3 separate regions of the Homo sapiens genome follow, and all the other regions are linked to region 2. The links are contacts of gene promoters, found by promoter capture Hi-C in blood cells and fetal thymus (Javierre and others, 2016). All regions are on one chromosome and are shown on one strand. The core of a region is centred on a gene start or on the middle of the fragment in contact, and the rest is flanking DNA. Distances in the headings are between cores, read along the strand shown.

What was found. The method cuts DNA at HindIII sites, captures the fragments that hold promoters and counts their contacts. A CHiCAGO score of 5 or more calls a contact.
Region 1: a contact is called between a fragment that was not itself captured here and the fragment with the promoter of SLC38A5 in region 2, in 1 of 17 cell types (neutrophils). The highest score is 5.9, in neutrophils.
Region 3: a contact is called between a fragment that was not itself captured here and the fragment with the promoter of SLC38A5 in region 2, in 1 of 17 cell types (monocytes). The highest score is 5.6, in monocytes.

Annotation. Positions count from the first base shown.
Region 1 is chrX:52,274,325-52,278,530 of GRCh38, reverse strand. No RefSeq gene overlaps it. Among named protein-coding and RNA genes, the nearest start is that of MIR8088, 60 kb to the left of the region's middle. The HindIII fragment of the contact is 1,699 bases long and covers 1,993-3,691 here.
Region 2 is chrX:48,469,010-48,472,257 of GRCh38, reverse strand. SLC38A5 (solute carrier family 38 member 5) reads left to right here and starts at 1,998. Exons shown (of 17, transcript NM_033518.4): 1 at 1,998-2,076; 2 at 2,822-2,923. The HindIII fragment of the contact is 10,592 bases long and covers 1-3,248 here.
Region 3 is chrX:52,998,124-53,002,674 of GRCh38, reverse strand. No RefSeq gene overlaps it. Among named protein-coding and RNA genes, the nearest start is that of FAM156A, 42 kb to the right of the region's middle. The HindIII fragment of the contact is 8,235 bases long and covers 1-4,551 here.

The DNA.
Region 1 (4,206 bases), core at 1,593-4,092, 3.8 Mb before region 2:
TCACATAAATGAAAACAAAATAATTTTACAATTAATGGTAAAGACATACAGTCCACATCTTACTGGAAGGAACTATATGAATTATCAAACTGAATTTAGATATTTGTGATGCATGAATCAGCACACCAAAAAGACAATTCAGAGACCACAAAATTTAATAACCAAGTAGATGCATTAACAGGGAATATAAACATTGACACTCAAAACATACCCAAATTAAAACTACACAGAAATCCAGACAACCCATGGAGACATTCATTACCACTTCTACAACTCAGGAGATAATCAGACAATGAATGTGAGATAGTACAAGTACCCCCCAATAACTATAATGAAACAGGGGTATGACTTGAAAATTAAACAGACAGCTGAGTGTGGTGGCTCAAGCCTATAATCCCAGCATTTTGTGAGGACGAGGCAGGTGGATCACGAGGTCAGGAGTTCGAGATCAGCTTGACCAACATGGTGAAACCCTGTCTCTACTAAGAACACACAAAAAAATTAGCCAGGCGTGGTGGCACTTGCCTGTAATCCTAGCTACTCAGGAGGCTGAGACGAGAATCGCTTGAACCCGGGAGGCAGAGGTTGCAGTGAGCTGAGATCGTGCCACTGCACGCCAGCCTGGGCAACAGACCGAGACTCCACCTGAAAAAAAAAAATTAAACAGACACCAGAAGCAGCTTACATTCCACAAATGCTCCTACAATTACGTAAGCAGAAAGGACATTTAGGCACACACTCACTGTACAAGTGGCTGTCAGAAATCAAAAGGTGACATGACATCAAATTAAAAAGGCTACAGGTAATTGTGAATAATGTAAAACTAATCTGGACAAATATAAATATACTAAACCAATATACATACAAATCTGACATCTTTAATTTCTGCTTACAGGTAAATTTTATAGAACCATTAAATCGCTCCTACTAACAAAAATATGCAGTTACAATGGTGGATATATATAAAGGGATTGGCATAGCAACAGCAGCTAGCCACTCATTTGCCAAATATAATATCTCAGCCTTAGAAATTTGGGCGGCTCACTATGGAGCCCCCAAAATGATTGAAAGTGATCAAGCAACTCATTTTACATCAAGGACCACACAAGCATTGGTGGACCAATGGGATATATAATTAAATTTTTACCTACCTTGCAATCTTACAGCAGTGGGATATATAGAAAGATTTAATGGCTAATAAAAAGAGAATGGAAAGCCTTAGACCAAATGAGTACATTTCAACAAGCTCTTAACCTGGCATGTTTCAACTTAAATCAAAGAGAAAGACTATAAGAGCAGCCTCCATTCTTATCTTAATCACCCAAACTTAACTGTCACAAAAGATAAGGAAGAATATGATACAAATATTATACCTTACAAGGTGAGCACTAGACTAAATAACAACACTATCTCCCAACAGGACACTGTGGCCCATGGACACGGAAACACATGTTAGACTACAGGAAACAGGAGAGTTAGAATTAGACAAAATCTCCAATCTCTCTTTACAATGCTTTATTCTAGTCATTGCATTAATATTATCCACGAGAATAAGTGAAGGTGTACTTCAATCCAATTTTGCTTACCACTAATCTAATATTTTTAACTTCAACATCACTCCTAGCTATCACTGGAATAATTAAATACTTTACTCACTTAGGACATCAAGATGGCTACAAATTTGTGTAGCTTCTCAACTGGTCTTATCAACTTTCTCATTCACCTCATATTAGCCATCATAGTAACTTTACTGCCTTGTTATTACTTATATTGCCACCAGGGAGACTGTAACCAGATAAATCAAACTAACACAAGCACACACACCCCTCACAGCAGAAAAATTACAAATTTCACTATCTGCTTGTTAAGTATATTATTTGATTAATAATTTGCAGACTGACAGCTATAATGCATCCCCAGCATATGGACTTAGCCTCTCCAGGATCTCCATCATCCATGTATATCCCGCCTTGCCCTCCTTCCTTTTAAGCTTCAGCCTCATGTTCGCCACCTATAGCTTTCAGAGCCCCTTCACCAGATTTCCTTCAGGAATTAGCTCAAGCAGACTGGCCCATACAGGCAGGCATGGACTGGAATTTCAGACCAGACTTTGTAGAATCTAGGCGCCACTGCCACCTTCCTGCTCCTTACGTTTATGAACTAACTGCAGCATTAGGAGCTATTGAAGGTTTAGTTGAAAGTGTACACCCCAATGACTGCATAAGTCTTGCTTGGCTACTAACCTATTATATAAGTTGCATTGCTAAACTGCTTAATAAGAGAGGACAGACCCCATAGAACTACCTTACTTTGTTCTACCCCAACCTAACCCAGCAGCAATACTACTACTGGAAGCAATCTTTGACTATACTACTTAGAGAAATATTAGGATGACATAGATTATTATATCTTAGTTTGTTTTCAGTGCTATATTTAATGCCTATACATCTGATAATTAATAGCAAACATAAGATTGATGCAAATAGCTTAAAATATGTTAGGAGATATAGAAGGGAAATAACAGATACTACTACTACTACTACTACTACTACTACTACTACTACTACTACTGCTACTACTGTTTATTCCTAAAGTAACCATTAAAATTTCTGAGCCTCAAACACATACATATCCAACAGTGCCAACTCATACAGCACCTAAAATCACACGATTACCAGAACAAATTCCGCAATATATACTTCATGAAAATATATCATTTTTGAACAATTGTTAGAAAGTCAAGGGACTGATAAAAGAATACTTAGAGCTTCAATTAGACTATTTTGTTCATATTCATTTGACCCAAAGCAATGCCTGAAGAGCTTTTAGCTTTTACACACACTTCCAATCATTGTATCTTTATAGAATCTTTGCGCATATTCCTAAACATACTTTAGAAGAATGCATAAATGACATGACTAAATGTGACACCCCAACTTATGCAGCTACAATGAAGCATTCAATAACATCTCAAACCATGGATGGCTCACATAATAGGTAGAGAAATGCTAATAGAAACAGACATGCCAATCAAAACAGTTCATTACATAAGAAGCGCTATATCATACCAATCCCCAATCATAGTACCACAGATAGAACCATATGTTGGAAGATCTCACATGACATGCTTGGATATGATACGACACTCCTACAAGTCATTTGTTAATAGTTGGTATGAATTCTGGTACCAATCTGGACTTGAAGGAAATGAACATTATGATTATGAAGTAGATTCAAGGGATGACACAAGACTAAATATAGCTACAAAACCAACCACTTCATCTTACACCCATATATCAGACCCCCACAGGAAAAAGTGTCAATGCCACTAGGATATCCATTAGATTATGATATAATAACAACAGAAGAGGATAAGACATACTATAACTATCATCTAATTAACTTTCCTAACTTGCTGTTTTTTGGAAATTTTGCCTTCACCCACCCTGTTCATCTTATGATTATTACGCAAAAAGCCAAAATTATTTGACAGTCTCACAATTCTTCTTTTTTCTTTTTATTAGACAAAAGAGAGCTGGAGTAACAATTCTTTAATAAGGCTAAAAAATTCTCACTGGCAGAATTATATTGAAAACATAGATGACACCCAGTAATCTTAACTAATGCTGACTATCACTTTACACACACTACCTTTGAAACACACACTAAAACAATGTATGTAGATAAAGCTTGTCTTGAATACAAGTATACTTATACTTGCCCTCCACAAATAAGGAACTTATAAAGATAAAAAATAGAATCAACACTACCCAACAAGATATACATTTTGAGGGACAACCAACATTAATATGCTTTAACCTTAACTTTACATATATTAAAGCTACATTTCATTATCCCACGGATGAAAACCTTATCCTTGCCCATTCTACACTATAAGTTGCTTACTAACATGGTTACACGTTCCAAGATCAACAGGCTTTACAAAACAAAACAAACCAACAGACACAGCACAATTCAGACTTTGGCATAATAAAACACATGCTAAATTTACAACATTAAATGGCAAACTTGGCTACAATATATCAAAACTACCTTTACACAATAAGCAAAGAGTTTATAGAGAATGTAGACAGATATGTTATCATAACTGGAAAGTCCACTCTATGGTGGAATGTGACAGAAACCAAAGCAGGCTTATGTTGGACACAACCACAAAAACCACACTAGTTCCCAGTCATCACAATA
Region 2 (3,248 bases), core at 749-3,248:
GCTTTTTTTTTTTTTTTTTTTTGAGATGGAGTCTCACTCTGTCGCTTGGGCCGGAGTGCAGTGGCGCGATCTTGGCTCACTGCAACCTCCGCCTTCCAGGTTCAAGCAATTCTCTTGCCTCAGCCTCCCGAGTAGCTGGGATTACAGGAACCCGCCACCACGCCCAGCTAATTTTTTTTGTATTTTTAGTAGAGACGGGGTTTCGCCACGTTGGCCAGGCTGGTCTCGAACTACTGACCTCATGATTCACTCACCTTGGCCTCCCAAAGTGCTGGGATTACAGGCATGAACCACTGCACCCGGCCCAACTCATACCTTTTTTTTTTTTTTTTTTTTGGCAACCGTGTGCATTGGTACTGTCTGTCGGTGCAGTTCATCTATATGTTGTTGTGTGTGTGTGTTGCTTGGGTGTTTGTCTCCTTTGTAATGGTCGTGGGTGACAAGTGTGTCAGAGTACTTGTCCCTCCTATATGTGTATCTATGCGCACGTATCTTTCTTTGTGTGTCTGCTGCTGTATTTGTGTCTCTTCTTAGCGAGTGGCTGCAGGTATGTGTGCCCTCGGGGTGTTTCTTCTGGTGCCATGGTATGAGTACTATCTGGTTCTCTTGTTTTTTCCTTGTGTAGCTTTCAGTGTGGTTTCTGGATTTTTTCTTTGCAACGATAGTAAGCGTACTCTGCATTCCTGTGCTTTGTGTTTGTGTGCAGGTATATGCTTTCCCTATATGTTTCTTTTCTGACTTGATTTGTGACTAGCTGTGTGTGTACACGGCTGTGTGCAGCCATTTGCTGAAATGCAGTTGTGTGTGTGTGTGTGTGTGAGAGAGAGAGAGAGAGGAGAGAGAGAGAGAAGGAGACTATGGCTTTTCTGTTTGTACAAAAATCATGTCAGCCTATGAGTGCCTCTCTCTGTGACTGGAGCTGTATGTGGTTACATGTGGTCACAAGTGCACATTCAAGTTCACATACACAGAGATATCATTTTAGGGCTTGAACCTGGAAGTTTGCCTCCAGGGTCATCTGAACCTGGATTCAGGTTCAGATCCAGGGCCATCTGAACCTGGATCGTGTGTGTGGGAAAGACCCAGGACCCACACACAATGTCATCAGCTGTGTGTAATTGTGTGCTCTGTGTGTGGCTGTGAATCTGTGTGTGTGATTTGCCTGTTGATTGTCTTTGGCATGGCTGTGGGTCCACGGGCGGTGAGGTTCAGGAGTCTCGAGTGTCTGGAAATCGGCACAAGCCTATCCCTGTGTTAGTCTGTGCTCTCTGTGAGCGGCTCTGAGCCTGTCGGTATTGATAGCTGTAAGACTATCGTCACTCTGTGTGGCCACGTGTGTGACTGTCCCATGAGCCATTGCTCTTAACGTGCAGTGGTGAGTCTGTGTGTGTTCATGTCTGTCAGTCTTTATTCTCTTGTGTGGCTGTGAGTCTTTGTGCACCTCTGTGAGTGATGGCGAGTTGGCCCCCGTATCTGAGCCCCTTGATGGGGCTGTGATGGGTCCTGTTGTGTAGCTGCGATTCCTGAGTGTGCAGGAGTCTCTCTCCCGCTGTGGGGAAGTAAACGCCCCATCCCTTGTCCTCCTCCAACTGTGGGTGGGGTGAGGGCATCTAGGCCAGCTTTGAAGCCCCAGCCAGCTCCTGGCCTTTCCGGGAATTCTGTGTTCCCTGTCGGGGGTGGGCAGGCGGGCGAGGGGCCCAGACAGAGGCCTCTTGTCCACCTGGGCTTCAAGCAGCCCAGTCGAGGTGGTCCCAGACCCCAAGTCCACCCTGCCTGACATCCTGTAGCGGACACGTGGCTTGCCTGGGACAGGCATGCCTGTCATATGCCTGGAGGGGAGTGAACAGACGGACTCCCATAGAAGACAGACGGACAGACAGATAGTGGGACTTCTCAGGGCTTGGACAAGCCCCACCCCACGCTTGGGGTGGGGTCCAGGACTACAGTGCCCGCCCAGTTTGCGGACAGTGTGAGTTCACAGTCCACATTCCCCACCCAGCCACAAATGCCCTCCCTGCCTCCCTCTGGGGGCCCCCAAGATCTAGGGTCCTCTCGTGCCTAGGCTGTCTGCCTGAGGTCTGCCTGGAATAGCCTGGCTACTACCCCTGCACCTGTTCCCCTGCTGTCCCCAGGCCTCTCTGCCTGAATCTGCCTCTCTCTGCCTCTTTTCTCCTGTCCCTCCAGGAGTCTCTCTGCCTCAACCACTCTCTCTGCCCCTTCATCTCTCTGAGCTGGTGTGTCTGGTCCTACCCTCTGTTTGGGGAGCTGTCTGGCTCTGTCCCCCACCTCTTGGCCAGCCTGTGTCTCCTGTCTATGACTGAGCCCAATTGCCTGTTGCCTTTCTGCAGGTGTTTCCACGAGCCTATCCCTACCCACCTGTTTGTTTCTGAGTCTGCCTGTGTGTCCCTTTCTCCCTGTCTCTGCCTGTCTTCCAAGCTCCCCTAGCATCCCCTCCTCCCGCCCATCTGTCTTTCTGTCCCTTCTGTGGTCTGTCTGTTCCTGTGCTGTTTCTCATGCCTGCTTTCTTTGTAACTTCAGTTCTCCTACTCTCTCTCTGTCTCCTCTCTGCACCTTTTTCTGCCATCCATCCCATCCTGCTGTCCGTCTGCTCTGTGAGTCCATCCCCTCTGTCTGCCTGTCACTCTCTCTAGCTGTGGGTCTACACCCTCAATCTTTCAGGCCATTTCCCCCACCATCAACACACAAACAAACCGCTGTCTCCCTCCAAGTGGGTCCAGATAGGGGGCGCCCCTTCTCCACCTCTTCCCCCGCCCAGGGCCAGAAGGAGGGAAACGAAATTAAAATTAACATTTCTTCTCAGGAAAAAAAAAAAAGTACCGCTCCAGAGCAGGAGCCTAGGCAGCCGAGAGGGTGCCCGAACCTGAGTCTGAGTTGCGGCCACTTCAGGAGCTGAGAGGAGCAGGTAGGTGAGGAGGGAGCGTGGGCTGCGGGGATGGTGTTCCTGGGGGCCTGAGATATGAGTAGGGGTCCTGGGAGGGGGCTCGGGGTTCCTTGGAGACATTTTAGCACTAGTGGGGAATGGAATGGCGTGTATGGGGAGGTCCTTTTTGTACCCTGATCCCAGGAAGTGAATTCAGGTGTGGGTGGGAGGCTCCGGAGGGTGCTGGTGGTGGGGGATGGGACTCCTTGAGACCCTCCCTGTCCCAGGAACGGGATTCAGGACTTGGGAAAAGGATTTCCTGAGCCAGTTTGAGCTCTAATGGGGACCTTGAATGGGGGTTTCTGAG
Region 3 (4,551 bases), core at 1,756-4,255, 4.5 Mb before region 2:
GACCCTGTCTCTACAAAAAACTAAAAAATGGCCAGGTGTGGTGGCACACGCCTGTAGCCCCAGCTACTTGGGAGGCTGTGGTGGGAGGATCCCTAGAGCCCAGGAGATTGAGGCTGCAGTGAGCTGTGATCACACCACTGCACTCAGCCTGGGTGACACAGTGAGAGCCTGTCTCAAAAAAAGAAGAATAAAAGACTCCATTAGTACATCAGTACACGGACTACATAGGCCATCCCCTTCCTCCACATTCTCTCCCTTCCCAGCTTACCACTGGGGTGAGGATCTGGGTGTTTGCTTGTTTTCTTCAAATACATTTCTCTGTGTTTAAACACACACACACACACACACACACACACCCCAGGTCCCACTATGAACTTTTCCACATTCCCCCATTAAGAGCGTGTCCTGAAGAAGATTCCTTTGACCAGTATAGTCTGGTCCCCTCATTCTGTTCCGTGGCCAGTGACTGCTCCCTGATATAATACAAGTCTCTCATTGTTCATTTACCATCCAGTGATCACTGACTATGAATGGACATTTAGAGGTTTTCCCTGATTGTTTGCTACTATCTTCCTTGTATACTAAGCTCTGTGCTATGTGTATGTTTCTTCATTATACATTCTTTTAAGTGGAATTGCTAGGGAAAAAGAGTTCAGCCATTCAACAACCATGCAGTGAGTGCCTGCTGTGTGGTGGGCACTGGAGAGACTGAGGAAACTGGATAGGAAAATGCCCCTGCCCTCATGGATGTAACATTCTAAGGGCTTACATATAAGGATTTTTCATTTTGATAGATGCTGCTCTGATGTTATTCATCAGTGGTGCAGGAGAAGAAAAGTTTGTTGACTGGCATAGTCACACCACTCATGGGGCAGGAGCTCTGTGGCAGTGGACTCGATGCTTAGACCTTTGCTCCCTTTAAGATCTTCAGGGTCTGGTGATAAGACTTTATCTGGGTGTGTTGTTGGGGAGAGAGGGAGAAAAAGATGGGGAAGGGCTGGTCTACTAGTAATACAGTGGAGGAAGGTGGGAATAAAAGTCTACTTAGCTGTGTGGAAGAGTGGCTGGGCACAGTTAGAAATGCAGTCTTGGCCGAGTGCAGTGGCTCATGCCTGTAATCCCAGCACTTTGGGAGGCTGAGGCGGGCGGATCACCTGAGGTCAGGAGTTCTAGACCAGCCTGGCCAACATGGTAAAACCCCGTCCCTACTAAAAATACTAAAAATACAAAAATTAGCCGGGTGTGGTGGTGTGCGCCTGTAGTCTCAGCTACTCCGGAGGCTGGGGCATGAGAATCACTTGACCTGGGAGGTGGAGGTTGCAGTGAGCCGAGTTCGGCCACTGCACTGCAGCCTGGGCAACAGAGCGAGACTCCATCTCAAAAGCAAAAACAGAAAGAAAGAAGAAGAAGAAAAAAAAGAAATGAAAGTCTTGGGCCCCTCCCCAGACCCACTGAATCAGAAACTCTGAAAGGTGAGGCCCAGCAATCTGTGTTTTAACAAGCTCTCTAGGTGATTCTTGATGCACACTAAAGTTTGAGAACCATTAGAGTAATCCACAGGACCTAAGTATGAAATAGCTGGCCCCTCTTGGATCTCACCTCCTGTGAGTGTGCAGCTGGGGATGAGGCGTGGAGGATGTAACATACCATTGCGGGTACCGGAAATGAACACACCATTATGCGAGATACCATAGGGGAAGGGAGCTTCTATTTTGTAAGAATACAAATGCTGTGTGTGGAGGGACAATAAAGCCCACCCCCGCCCACCAACGAAATCAGCCCCACCTTTCGACAGTAGGGCGGGCGCGGCGGCGAGCGCCCCAGGCGGCAATCCGTCCTCCTGGTTTCCACCCAGGCCCAAGCTGACACCCATTCTCCGACTTCTCGGAGACCCCTCTAGTCCCATTTTTGGCCACGCCCGTCTCCGTTCTACAGATCTGAATAAATTAGGAACCTGCAAAGGGGCAGTCGATCGGTTGTGGGACGATCAAGGCAGGAAGGCATCAAGGACCGCTCTGGGAAGCTCACCTAGAGAGTGCGGCTCTTACAGAGTACAGCGGGATGCACTCGTAGAGCCGGGTCCCTGGGTCTTCGCGCTCGCGCACGGTCAGGCACAGTGGCTGATGGGCGGAAGTTCGTAAAGCGGAGCCTGGGCTTTAAGGACTGGATGACCAGTGGGATCCAGTCTTCAAGACTTGGACTGTTGTTCAGTATGAGGCTAAAGATGCTTCCCAAGTCACAGGCAGGGCTTAAGTGAGACCACTCGCAAGGGGTCATCTGGCGCTCAGTGCGCAGGGCTCTAAGTTTTAGGTCATCACAGATCTGACTTGCAGTGTCCCAAGCACTTCTTTCTTATGTGCCATCTCATTTAATCCCCACTAGCACCTTTGGAAGAAAGCCCTGTCACCTCTGTCGCTGATGAGGACACTGGAGCGCCAAGAAGGCAGATCCCTGGCTGGGGCCCTCCAACCAGGGTGGGGCAGAGCTGGGGCCAGATGACAATTCCCGGAGGACCGCAGTTGGGACACTCCCAGCGCTCATGCTGCCCCTGTCCCTCCCAGGGTCCCTTCTCTGTCCTCACAGACCCAGCTGGGCAGTGTCCTCCCATCTCCTGAGGTGACACTCACCCCAGCGCCTCCTTCAGGAATCCCACCCCGCCCCCTCCAGCCCTAGGCGAATTGCCCTGGACTCTCAGTCTGGGTCTGGAGTTTCATCTGGATCTGGGAGACATTTCCAGTTCTGCCCTAACAGGGATGTTGTGACAGAAACCTGTGTGGGGGCAGGAGAGATATCTGTCCTGCAAAATGGTCTGCACTTTCAGGAAGTGCAGGGAGGGTCCTGAGGGGGTCCTCTGAGGTAGGCCTAGGTGCCGGGTGAGAGGACCGAAGTGGGCGTGAGAGGGTATAACTGAGGCCCCATGACTAGGGCTGGGGTAGGGAGGTAGAGGTCCGTGGTGGAAGGGGAGCCCTGGTGGCTCACAAGGGTGGGGAGCTGGGGAGAGAGAGGAGGTGTGGCAGCTGCCAATTGGAGAGGAAGTTTGGGAGAAAGGACCAGAATGCTCAGAAGGGCCATAATGGGGGTTGCCATTGGCAGTGTGAAGGGAGGACCTCTACTCTCTCTCCAAGATCCAGTTCCCCACAGTGGGTGCTGAGAGATGGCAAAGATAACGGGGTCTAGGGGTCTCCTACTGTGTTCTGGGATTTACCCTGAAGCCCCCATGGGGCAAGATACAAAAGTCACCAGGACCAAAGGTGATCAGGGTTGGTCAGACGATGGCCATTCCTGGGAGCCAGATATGAGAGCTTACTCTCTGATCCCCTCAGTCCCAGAGGGTCCTTCCCCATCCCTGGTGTGAACCTGCCTTCCTCATGACAACAACGGTGGTGACTGCAGACTGTGGGGAACTACAAGATCCAAGGCCTCCCCATAACAGTGTTGGATGGCACAGAGATTCAGCATCACACAGCAGCCCTGAGCTGATTCTTTGTGGGTATGTGTACCAGGGTGTAGCTGGTAAGCTCTTTGTGGGTTGGTGTGTGAGGTCCTTGAGTTATTGTGAGCTGTTACCTTGAGGTAGGAATTCTCTGAGCTGGTTGGGGGTCTGTGTCCTGAGGTGTGGCATCTTTGAGCTGTTTGGTGGTTGGTGTCTAGGGTGAGAGGTCTCTGAACTGCTTGTGGGCACTGTCCTAAGGCATGAGATCTTTGAACATTTTTGTGGGAGGTCTTTGTCCAGAAGGTTAGGTCTCCGAGCTGCTCATATATCAGGATATTTTTGTGAGGAAGGCAGGATGGTCCTTTCTCTCACAGGGGTAGAACAAGGTGCCCTGGTATCAGAGAGATGAAAACATAGGATCCTTATCCTTAGGGAGGGCAAGTCCTCAGTGTAGCATGTAGGAGCCAGTGGTACAAATACTAATGACAATGTCTGCAGACATTAACCCCATCCTTGCTCAGGGCCGACCCCTGTGACAAACCCATGTAACCCATGTTAACTCAATCTGCCAAATTGCCAATGAGGAGCTCACCATTTGCAGATGAGGAGGCTGAAGCCAAGTGAGGGTAGGGCCTGTGCTCACACAGTCCTCATGAAGAGGGAGGAACTGGCTGTAACTTGGACTCACTGGAGGAGACAGGGAAAGGCTCAGGCACAGCCGGGGTCAATGGGAGATGACAAGGAAAGGGGAAAGGAAGAGGTTTGCCCAGGGCCTCAAGGGCCCCATCACTGACTCACTGGTGGGAGGTCTGCCTCTCTGTCTCTCTGTCGCACACCCTGCTTGGTAATGGATGTTGAGAATGCAATCCTCACGTTACCTGTGGAAGTGGTGGCATGAGGTAAAGAGTGGGGAAATACCACAGATTCATCCATTGGCATGAGGTCCACCAGCAAATGTAGAGATTCCTACCTCTTCTTCCCCCTTGAAAGAATTTTTTTCAGGCCAGGCATGGTGGCTCACGCCTGTAATCCCAGCACTTTTGGGAGGCCGAGGCAGGCAGATGGCTTGAGCCCAGGAGTTCAAAACCAGCTTGGGCAACATGGCAAAACCCTGTCTT